3 separate regions of the Homo sapiens genome follow, and regions 2 and 3 are each linked to region 1. Evidence: promoter capture Hi-C in human tissues and cell types (Jung and others, 2019). All regions are on one chromosome and are shown on one strand. The core of a region is centred on a gene start or on the middle of the fragment in contact, and the rest is flanking DNA. Distances in the headings are between cores, read along the strand shown. Region 1 holds the start of PYGO1 (pygopus family PHD finger 1). Region 2 has its middle 68 kb from the start of PRTG. Region 3 has its middle 12 kb from the start of PRTG.

Region 1 (3,332 bases), core at 512-3,011:
CACAGGACTCTTTCCTTGCTCACTTTGCTGCAGTTACAATAGCTTCTTTGCTGTTGATTGCACACACTGGGCATATTCCAGACACAGGGGCTTTGCATTTGCTGTTGCTTTTCAGAGACTGCTCTTCCCACGTGAATTCATATGGCCCTGGCTCTATCATTTCCTTTAGGTCTTTGCTCAAACATTATCTACCAGGTGAGCCCTTTCATGATCACCTTACATACAATCCATACTTCCCATCCCCACACATATTTCCTCTCCTCTATTCCTGTTTTGTTGTCCACCATACCACCTACGATTTGACATTCTGTATCTACTGTTTATCATTTGTTTATCCCACAAGAGGGTGAACTCCTACTGGATGAAGATTGTCTATCTGCTTTGTTCACTGCTGTATCCCAGTAACAAGAACAGTGTCTAGCACATAGTAGATGTTCAATAAATATTTGCTTAATGAACAGTGAGTACTACTCCAACTCTAGAACTTTCAGTCTTAACCTTATTAAGAGCTAAAAGGCATCCCCCAATTTCCGGGTGGCATTTGACTTTTGTGAACTTATATGCAGTATCTTTTGTTTGACACATGGTTCCCTCTGATTTTTCTTAGATGATAGTAACACGAAAGGAAAATTCCTAACCAGTGCGCAAGAAAGAAGAAAATCAACCATGCATAACACTGATTTTAGATAATATCTTATCCATAAACCAACAGAGAAAATGCCTTCTGAATTTGTAGCTTCTCCTCTTAAACCTACGGAAAATAAACTGAATATTTGTTGCCTTTGCCGGGGTGGGGGGGCGAGAAGGGGGCCAGGAGAGACGTGAAAGCCCAGGAGCCCTTCTTCAACAGCATCAACTCTTGTGTACTCCAACTTACTTTTTTTGAGGGGGTGGGCACCGTTCGAGGTCTCTGCCAGGGGGTGTCTGTTTTTCACCCTTTGAGGTGCCTATTGTGCTGTCTTGAGAACGAGGAGAGGTGGGTGAGGAGGGGGTAAGAAAGGATGCTGCTTGCGGCTCCAACTGCCTCCGAACACAAAGTCGGGAGGCGAGGGATCCGCGCGGATGTCTCGGGGGCCAGCGGGCGCCCGGGCCGCGCGCTCGGATCGCAGCCTCGGCCCCGGGGTGCCGGCGGGACGCGGGCTGCGCGGACTTAGGCCCGGACAGAGCCCCATGGCCTCCCGGCGGCCGGGCACGGGGCCCCGCGCACCTCACTCACCCCGGTTCCCCCAATCCGGCACCCTTCTCGGTTACCTCGAACTCTCTTCAGCGAAATGGGATCCTTCTCCTGTTCTGCTGACATTACAGACCGCAAAGCATGACTCCCCCCCAGGCCGCGGGAATTCGGTCTCTTTGATGCTGCGGCGGCGGCTCCTCCTCCTCGCGGGGCCGCTGCGGCTGCGAGGCAAGCCTCGGAGCCGAGGCACGGCCGAGGGCGGTGGGGACGCGGGCCGACTTTGCAAAGTTTGGGAGGAGGACGAGGCCTCGGGGCGGCGGGGCGGCGGGGCGGCGTGCGGGCACCGGCGGGGCTCAGCGGCGGTGGCCGGGAGCGCGGCCTGGGGGCGGCCCCCCACCCGGGGCCGGCATGTGCTGAGGGCGAGTGCGCCGCCGCCGCCGCCGCCTCCTCCCACTCCTTCTTCTTCGCCGCCGCCTCAGGAGCCGCTGACAGGGGAAGCAGGAGGCTCGCGGCCCGGCCCTGGCGGCACACTCACAGCGCCCTCTGAGGAGGAGGTCTGCTCTCTCGCCGCTCCCGAGTCGCAGACACAAAAGCCCCCAGACTGGAGCCGCCTGTAAAACCCGCTCTGGGGCGGGCGAGGGACGTGGCGCGGCCCCGCGGCTTCCCCGCCCTGAGCTCCCCAGCCCCGCGCGGGGACGGGCTTCGGGGGGCGGGGGCCGCTGCCTCGTCCCGCGGCGCCTCCCGCCACCGCCGCCGCCTCGCGCTCCGCCTCGGCCCAGCCCCCACGGCCCGCGCGCGCCTCTTGCTCCAAGCCGGGGCTCGCGGGCCCGCGGCTCTTGCAGCCCGGGTGGGCAGCGCGCGCCTAGGGGCCGCCCCGCCCCGCGCCCGGCGCTCCCTCGCCGACCGCCAGGCCCGAGAACGCCCGACCCCGCGGCCGACGCTACCGGGCCCAGCTTTCGCAAGGAAAGGGCATCTCCGAACTTCGTCGGAGGCCACAGCAGCAGGCGTCTCGGCCTCGCAGCTAGGGATCGGAAAGATGAACGTACCATGCGAGGAAACTTTGTAAGCGGGAGCTGGAGAGTTCTCGGCGGGCATGTGGGGATCCAGATTCCCCGACTCCGTGTCCGCGTGGCCGTGGTGTGGACACCTGTCTGTAGAATGCCTCCACTTGGTATTTTAACGACTTGACTCTTCAAGAAAGAGCGACGTAGAATAAATACCAGAAAGGACGGTGGGCGGGGGAGGGGGGAGCGTGGGTAGAAGCGGTGACGCGGCTGGATCTCATTTAGACGTTAAATTTTAGGAGGAACACCCCCAGTGTGATTGTAAATTAGATGTGATCACCGGTCCACATTCTTCAGTTGGGCTGTGTGACCGGAGGCGACTTAGGTAACCTCTCTGGGTCTCAGTTTTCTTGTCTATAAAAGGCAGTGGGGCTACATCTCGAAGGTCTCTTCTAGCTCCGACATTGTTTAACGCACTTCTACGAAATTGTTTTCCCTGGTTTTTGTTTTTTGTTTTTTGTTTTTGTTTTTGTTTTGCTAGGTTTTCTGGTTATCCACTGGGCTTATTTTGATGTAAGAATCACCGAAAAGCACTCATGAAGCGTGGGAGGACACAGAACTAGCTACAGACAGGAGTCTCGTCCTTCCGGAGACAGACACCCAACTCATTCAGCTGCACAGTGTCACAGAGAACAGATGTTAACATGAAGCCAATGTACAGCCTCAACAGCTGCATACCAGACAATCGCCACAGCGGCTGATCGTCGTTAAGACATAGCGTGGCCGGAGGCAAATGTTACCCTTTATCTAATAAGGGTGGTCTGGAATTATGGAATTCCTGATTAGAAGAGTCAGACTAGGACAGGCTAAGGAAAATATTCTTACAGGAAGCACTCTGAGGAGAAGGTTCCTCCTAACTAGAATGTAAGCGCCATGCAGGCAGGAATTTTGACTGGCTCACTGCTGTATCCTCTGGTACCTAATACTGAGTAACACATAGTAAGTGTTCGGGAAAATATTCATTGATGTATGAATAAAGAGATTTGAAGTGGCCCTGGGACGACTGGGGTGGCAGGGCTTTGGTAAGTGTAATAAAGCCGAAGCAAATGGTAATATAATAAAGCAGATTGGGGGCCGGGCGCGGTGGCTCACGC
Region 2 (3,332 bases), core at 586-3,085, 220 kb after region 1:
CTTGAACCCAGGAGGCAGAGGTTGCAGTGAGTCAAGAATTTGCTGCTGCACTCTAGCCTGGGCGACAGAGTGAGACTCATCTGAAAAGAAAAAAAAAACAAAGAAACAGAGGCAAAAATATTGTTTACAGTTGTGGATCAGGAAAATAAAACTTCGAGGGTAGAATAGCTGTATTGATAAAAATTTCAAACTACATTATTTTCTTTATATTTTGCAGTAATCTTAGATTGAAAGAAAAGTTGCAAAAAACAGTACAAAGATTTCCTATATGCCTTTCATCTAGATTTCCTTTATGTTACCATTTTACATAACCATACCTCAATATTGGAAACCAGGACATTAACATCGATACACTACTATTAACAAAACTTTAATACCCTCTCTGAATTTCGCCAGTTTTTTTTTTTTCCCTGTCATGCTTTTTCTGTTCTAGGATTCAACCCAGGAACACATAATTCATTTAGCAGTCACATAGCTTTATGTCAGCTCCAATCTGGGACAGTTACTCAGTCTTTTCTGGTCTTCCATGATTTTGACAGTTTTGAAGAGTAAGTTATTTTGTAGACTGTGTCACAATTTGGGTTTTTCTGATGTTTTCTCATTATTAGTTTTTGGCAAGAAGGCCACAAATGATGCCGTGGCCTTCTCAGTGCCTCATATTAGGGTCGGGAGGTGTATGATGTCAAAATGGCTTATTATTGCTCAAGTTAACCTTGACAATTGGTTAAGATGGTGTCTACAGTGTTTCTCCACTATAAAGTTACTATTTTTCCTTGGCAATTAATATCTTTGGAGAGATGCATAGAGAATATGCTCATGTCCTATTTTCTTCTCACCTTTGGCCACTTTAGCATCCATCAGTGAGTCTTGTTTGCCTAATCATGCTTTTCAATTTGTTGTTCCTCTCACATTAATTGGAATTCTTCTGTAAGGAAGAGTAGTCTACCCTATATATAGTATTTTTAATTTTTAATTTTTTTCAGGAACAGAGTCTTGCTCTGTTCCCCAGGCTAGAGTGCAGTGGCACTTTCTTACCTCACTGAAGCATTGAATTCCTGGGCTCAAGGGATCCTCTTGCCTTAGCCTCTCAAAGTCCTGGGATTTCATGTATTTATTTATTCAATTATTTGTTTATATCAGTATGGACTCATGCATATTTATTTTATTCTATGGGTCACAACTTAATACTGTCATTTATTTTCTTGCTCAATTTGCTCCAGCCTTCTCTATCAGGAGCTCCTTCAGGTTGGTGCCTGTGTCCTTTTGATGTTCCTTTATTAGTTTTTGAGTACTTCCTTGCTTTCTGTAACCACAAGAGGTTCCAGGCTCATCTTTAATTTTTCCTGCCCCAGCCCTGGATTGAACTATTTTTTCCAAAGAGACCTGGTTCCTTTTATTGGAGAATAATAGATGTATGTATATATGTATATATGTATGTATGTATGTATGTATCTTTATATATATTACAAACCACAAGTTCATCGTTATTCCTGCAAATCTAATCCAACACCATAGAGCTCCTTCCAGGCTTTCCCCTTTTTCTTATTGGTAACTTCCTTCTGGAACCTTGAGAAATGTGGCTTTCAATATCTGTAGTATATTTACTTATTTATTCTATACTGGCATATACCTATAGTCATTTCAGAATTACTTATTAACTAGAGTACAGTATTTATATAGTTTGTTTTTGGCCTTATATTATCCAATCAAAATACTGTTTTGCAAAGTTATTTAAGTTATTTCTTTTCTTCCTTACTTCTTTCAGTGAAGTTATTTGCAATTTAATTAATTTTTTTACTATTTTATGCTACTTTGGATTCCCCCCAATCCTGGTTGATTTTTTTTTTTTTGAGACAGGGCCTTGCTCTGTTGCCCAGGCTGGAGTGGAGCGGTGTGGCATGATCATAGCCCATTGCCACTATAGCCTTGACTTCCCAGGCTTAAGCCATCTTCCTGACTCATCCCCTCAAGGAGCTGGGACTACTACAGGTTTTCACATCACGCCCAGCGAATTTTTTTTTTTTTTTTTTTTTTTTTTTTAGAGAAGGGGTTTTGCCATGCTGCCCAGGCTGGTCTCAAACTCCTGGGCTTAAGCGATGCACCCACCTTGGCCTCCCAAAGTGCTGTGATATGGCTGTCTTCTTATATGAACCCCAGTCATATTGGATTCAGGGCCTACCCTACTCTAGTATGACCTTATTTTAACTGATTACATTGGCAATCACTCCATTTCCAAATAAGGTCACATTCTGAGGTACTGGGAGTTAGGACTTCAACATATCATTTTGGGAGGGATGCAGTTCAACCCGTAACAGTAAGCTTTGTCTTTAGTTTCTGGCTTATCCTCCCTGTATTTCTTCTGAACAAACAAATACAGTAAGTTCTCACTTAAGGTCATTGATAGGCTCTTGGAAACTTCAACTTTAAGTGCAATGAAGTATAACAAAACCAGTTTTACTATAGGCTAATTGATATAAATAAGCAAAATTCTACACAAAATTTCAAATCACAAAAACATCACCAAACTTCTAAATGAAGATCCCAAACACAAGCTGGGTGTGGGGGCTCACACCTGTAATCCCAGCACTTTGGGAGGCCAAGGTGGGGTGGATCACCTGAGGTCGAGAGTTCAAGACCAGCCTGACCAACATGGAGAAATCCTGTCTCTACTAAATATACAAAAGCGGGGCGTGGTGGCGCATGCCTGTAATCCCAGCTACTTGGGAAGCTGAGGCAGAAGAATCGCTTTAACCTGAGAGGCGGAGGTTGCGGTGAGCCAAGATTGTGACATTGTACCCCAGCCTGGGCAACAAAAGTGAAACTCTGTCTCAAAACAACAACAACAACAACAACAACAAAAACCCAAACACTTCTTTTTTTTTTTTTTTTGAGACAGAGTCACACTCTGTCCACCCAGGTTGGAGTGCAGTGGCGCGATCTCGGCTCACTGCAGGCTCCGCCCCCGGGGGTTCACGCCATTCTCCTGCCTCAGCCTCCCGAGTAGTAGCTGGGACTACAGGCGCCCGCCACCTCGCTCGGCTAATTTTTTGTATTTTTAGTAGAGACGGGGTTTCACCATGTTGGCCAGGCTGGTCTCGAACTCCTGACCTCAGGTGATCGGCCCGCCTCAGCCTCCCAAAATGCTGGGATTACAGGCATGAGCCACCATGCCCGGCCTCTCAAACACTTCTAATATTAAACATTGAAATAAATGTGAGTTACACTTATATTTAAGAAAGATGAAAACAAGATAATTTTTGGGTGCAGTGGCTTATATCTGTAATCCCAGCACTTTGAGAGCGTGAGGCAGGTGGATCGTTTGAGCCCAGGAG
Region 3 (3,332 bases), core at 454-2,953, 170 kb after region 1:
GGCTGAGGCATGAGAATCGTTTGAACCTGGGAGGTGGAGGTTGCAGTGAGCCAAGATTGCGCCATTGTACTCCAGCCCGGGCAACAGAGCAAGACTGTCTCAGAAAATAAATAAATAAATAAATAAATAAATAAATAAATAAATAAATAATTCCCAAGGTCATACAACCAGTAAGTGATAATGGAGAGAATTCAAATTTGGGCTTCTCTGATCCATGCTTTATTGCTTCATGTATATTCTTTCCTTAACAACACCAAGAGTGACTTTATCCCTGGGCCCCTATTTGTGTAGGGTTCACAGGTCCATAGTAGACAGGATTTAATATCAATTAAAATCTTATTTTAGGGATTCAACCACAATGCAAATGACAAGCAAAATACACACATGCATGAAAATATGGGGTGCCTGAATATAACTTCTAGGATCTAAAAGGGAATCATCCCCTCCTCTTCAGCAATGGTCTTATCTTCCTGTAAGAGCTCTATTTCCAGCTGTTTTATATAACTTAAGGAGAAGAAAGGAAAAGATTAGGAAGTGAAAAAGTTGAGGAGGCTGAAGAAAAGAGTGATAATGAGAAGAGGTGGAAAAAAATAAATAAAGAAGTAAAAGTTGTGGGAAAAAAAATCACAACAACATCAAAATAGCTGTGGGTTTTAAAAAGTCTCCATCTGGGCTGGGTGCTGTGGCTCACGCCTGTAATCCCAGGACTAGGGAGGCCGAGACGGGTGGATCACTTGAGGTCAGGAGTTTGAGACCAGCCTGGCCAACATGGCGAAACCCCATCTCTACTAAAAATACAAAAAATTAGCCGGGCATGATGGTGGGCGCCTATAATCCCAGCTACTCAGAAGGCTGAGGCAGGAGAATCGCTTGAACCCAAGAGGCAGAGGTTGCAGTGAGCAGAGATGGTGCCATTGCACTTCAGCCTGGGCAACAAAAGTGAAACTCTGTCTCAAAAACAAAAAACAAAAAAGAAAGTCTCCATCTGCCCACCCACCCTGCTGCAGATCTCCTGTCCATTGAGGAGGTGCAGGTTCCTACTTGTGCTCTGTTTGGCGGATGAGAGAAGAAAAAAGTGGTGGTGAGGGGAGAAAATGCTGTGGACGAAGATACTGGCCCCAACACCTTCATGCTTCATTAGAGGCACTCCGGGGGTTTAAAGGGACTTCAGCACTCCATTTCCAGACACACCCATGCTAAGCTTTTACTTAGTACTTTCATAAATCTTTTATGACTGTCCTCAAATAGTGCACCATGCCTCAACACCTTTACATAGCACCTAGCAAAGTGCTTTGCACACAGCAGATGAGGGGGTCCCCACATTTTTGAGGGGAGGAGTAAATTGTTTTCCACTTTGTCTCCTGATGAGTGGAGAGGTACTGATAGTCTATAGTCCATGGTTGGTACATGTGTGGTGGGGTGATGTGGCAGCAGGGAAAGGAAAGATAGTTCACAATTAGAAGCCTCTGAACTGTGTCCTCCCCACCCCCAACTCACCTGGCCAGCATCTCATGTGCCAAGCTTCAAGGAACACCACACTCCACTTTCTGCCATGGGAAATTGTGATGATGCACGTGGAGAGAGATATCATGGCAACTTCTAGCCCGTACTTTACTGAGGTCGATTTTATGAACCAATCATTTTCCTGATCAGCTCCTCAAGGACTTCTACAAATTGTTAAGTATTTAATGTCCCATTGAAAATGGGTTTTATATCATTGGAAGATTTCAAGCTTGTCACTCTGTATTGGTCTACTATTATTCCTGCTCCTATCTACCGTGAACCATAGCATTAGTGGTATTTAGTAGTTGCTGTTTACTGTCTGCTGGGTGGCTGTATCCACACTGACCGCCATTGAGGAACCTAGAAACCTGTAGATTCTTGACACTAAGTACACATGCTTCCAGCTAACAAACATGTATATGTATTTCTCTAGTTTGTAGGTTGATGGCTATCATTGGTAAGGGATACTATGTGCAGGAGGTTTGGGGAGAACAGTTATAATAATTATAATCAGAGACATAGACTTTTTTAAAGGTTGTATAAGATTTCCAAAGATTTTTAGACCAGTGCAAGGTATTTGCTAGATCTCTCAACTATGAGAGTTAGAAAAGACAAATGAAAAGGTAATAAATGTAGGGGCATATGTAACTGTTAAATTATAATCCTATTACTCAGGCTTTGGGATTTTTCAGAAAACTGATATTCTGTAAGTTTACATTTTTTGTTAAAATAAAGACATGACTAAAAGGTTGGTAATTGCCCTATATTTGTTTTAAAAAATACTGTCTACCAATAAATACTCATTTTTAAATACTCACAAGATAAAGCAGCTATCTTTTGTAGCATTTTTAGTGTTAACATAAGAACTGTGAACAAAGACTGAGTATTTTGATATGTTTTCATTTTTCTGAGATAATAATGTATGCCTATATATTTGGGGGGTTAGTAAGCATGAGTTATCACAAGTACCAACAAAAATTAATCCTTTTTGATTATGTATGTTTAAAAAATTAGAGGATTTTTTTTTTTTTTTTTTTTTTGAGATGGGGTCTTCGCTCTGTCGCCCAGGCTGGAGTGCAGTGGCACGATCTTGGCTCACTGCAAGCTCTGCCTCCCGGGTTCATACCATTCTCCTGCCTCAGCCTCCCAAGTAGCTGGGACTACAGGCACCTACCACCACACCTGGCTAATTTTTTGTATTTTTCAGTAGAGACGGGGTTTTTCACCGTGTTAGCCAGGATGGTGTCGATCTCCTGACCTCATGATCCACCCGCCTGGGCCTCCCAAAGAGCTGGGACTACAGGCATAAGCCACCACACCCAGCCCTTTTTTTTTTTTTTTAAACACAGAATCTCACTCTGTCACCCAGTCTGGAGTGCAATGGCGAGATCTCGGCTCACTGCAACCTCTGCCTCCCGGGTTCAAGCAGTTCTGCCTCAGCCTCCCAAGTAGCCGGGACTACAGGCACCTGCCACCATGCCCGGCTAATTTTTTGTATTTTTGGTTGAGACGGGGTTTCATCATGTTGGCCATGCTGGTCTCAAATTCCTGACCTCAGGTAATCCACCCGCCTCGGCCTCCCAAAGTACAGGCATGAGCCACCGTGCCCAGCTGGAGATCTGAATTTTAAAGCTCAATTCTTAAAAGTTTTCCTTTAGGTTTGATGTCGACAGAGTAATCATATTGCCGTTTATAACAACCAAATCCCATTTATCACTGAATGGCAACTAACATGGAATGGTACCCTGGGTCCTCGCTTTTAGTTCAAAGCCCTTGTTCTGGTGAAGAAAGTGTTGATTTCTTCAAAGTCTTCACAGAAGCTCCTTTTC

Evidence for each region. The method cuts DNA at HindIII sites, captures the fragments that hold promoters and counts their contacts. A contact is called where the count stands out against the background at its distance.
Region 2: a fragment that was not itself captured here is called in contact with the fragment with the promoter of PYGO1 in region 1 in 1 of the 25 tissues and cell types used here (mesenchymal stem cells).
Region 3: a contact is called between a fragment that was not itself captured here and the fragment with the promoter of PYGO1 in region 1, in 1 of the 25 tissues and cell types used here (H1 embryonic stem cells).

The regions. Positions count from the first base shown.
Region 1 is chr15:55,586,584-55,589,915 of GRCh38, forward strand. PYGO1 (pygopus family PHD finger 1) reads right to left here and starts at 1,762. Exons shown (of 3, transcript NM_001367806.1): 1 at 1,252-1,762. The coding sequence starts at 1,300. LOC124903497 (a long non-coding RNA gene) reads left to right here and starts at 1,967. Exons shown (of 2, transcript XR_007064647.1): 1 at 1,967-2,236; 2 at 2,720-3,332. RefSeq lists silencers at 1,534-1,583, 1,664-1,783. The HindIII fragment of the contact is 20,429 bases long and covers 1-3,332 here.
Region 2 is chr15:55,809,801-55,813,132 of GRCh38, forward strand. No RefSeq gene overlaps it. Among named protein-coding and RNA genes, the nearest start is that of PRTG, 68 kb to the left of the region's middle. The HindIII fragment of the contact is 4,736 bases long and covers 1-3,332 here.
Region 3 is chr15:55,753,502-55,756,833 of GRCh38, forward strand. No RefSeq gene overlaps it. Among named protein-coding and RNA genes, the nearest start is that of PRTG, 12 kb to the left of the region's middle. The HindIII fragment of the contact is 3,348 bases long and covers 30-3,332 here.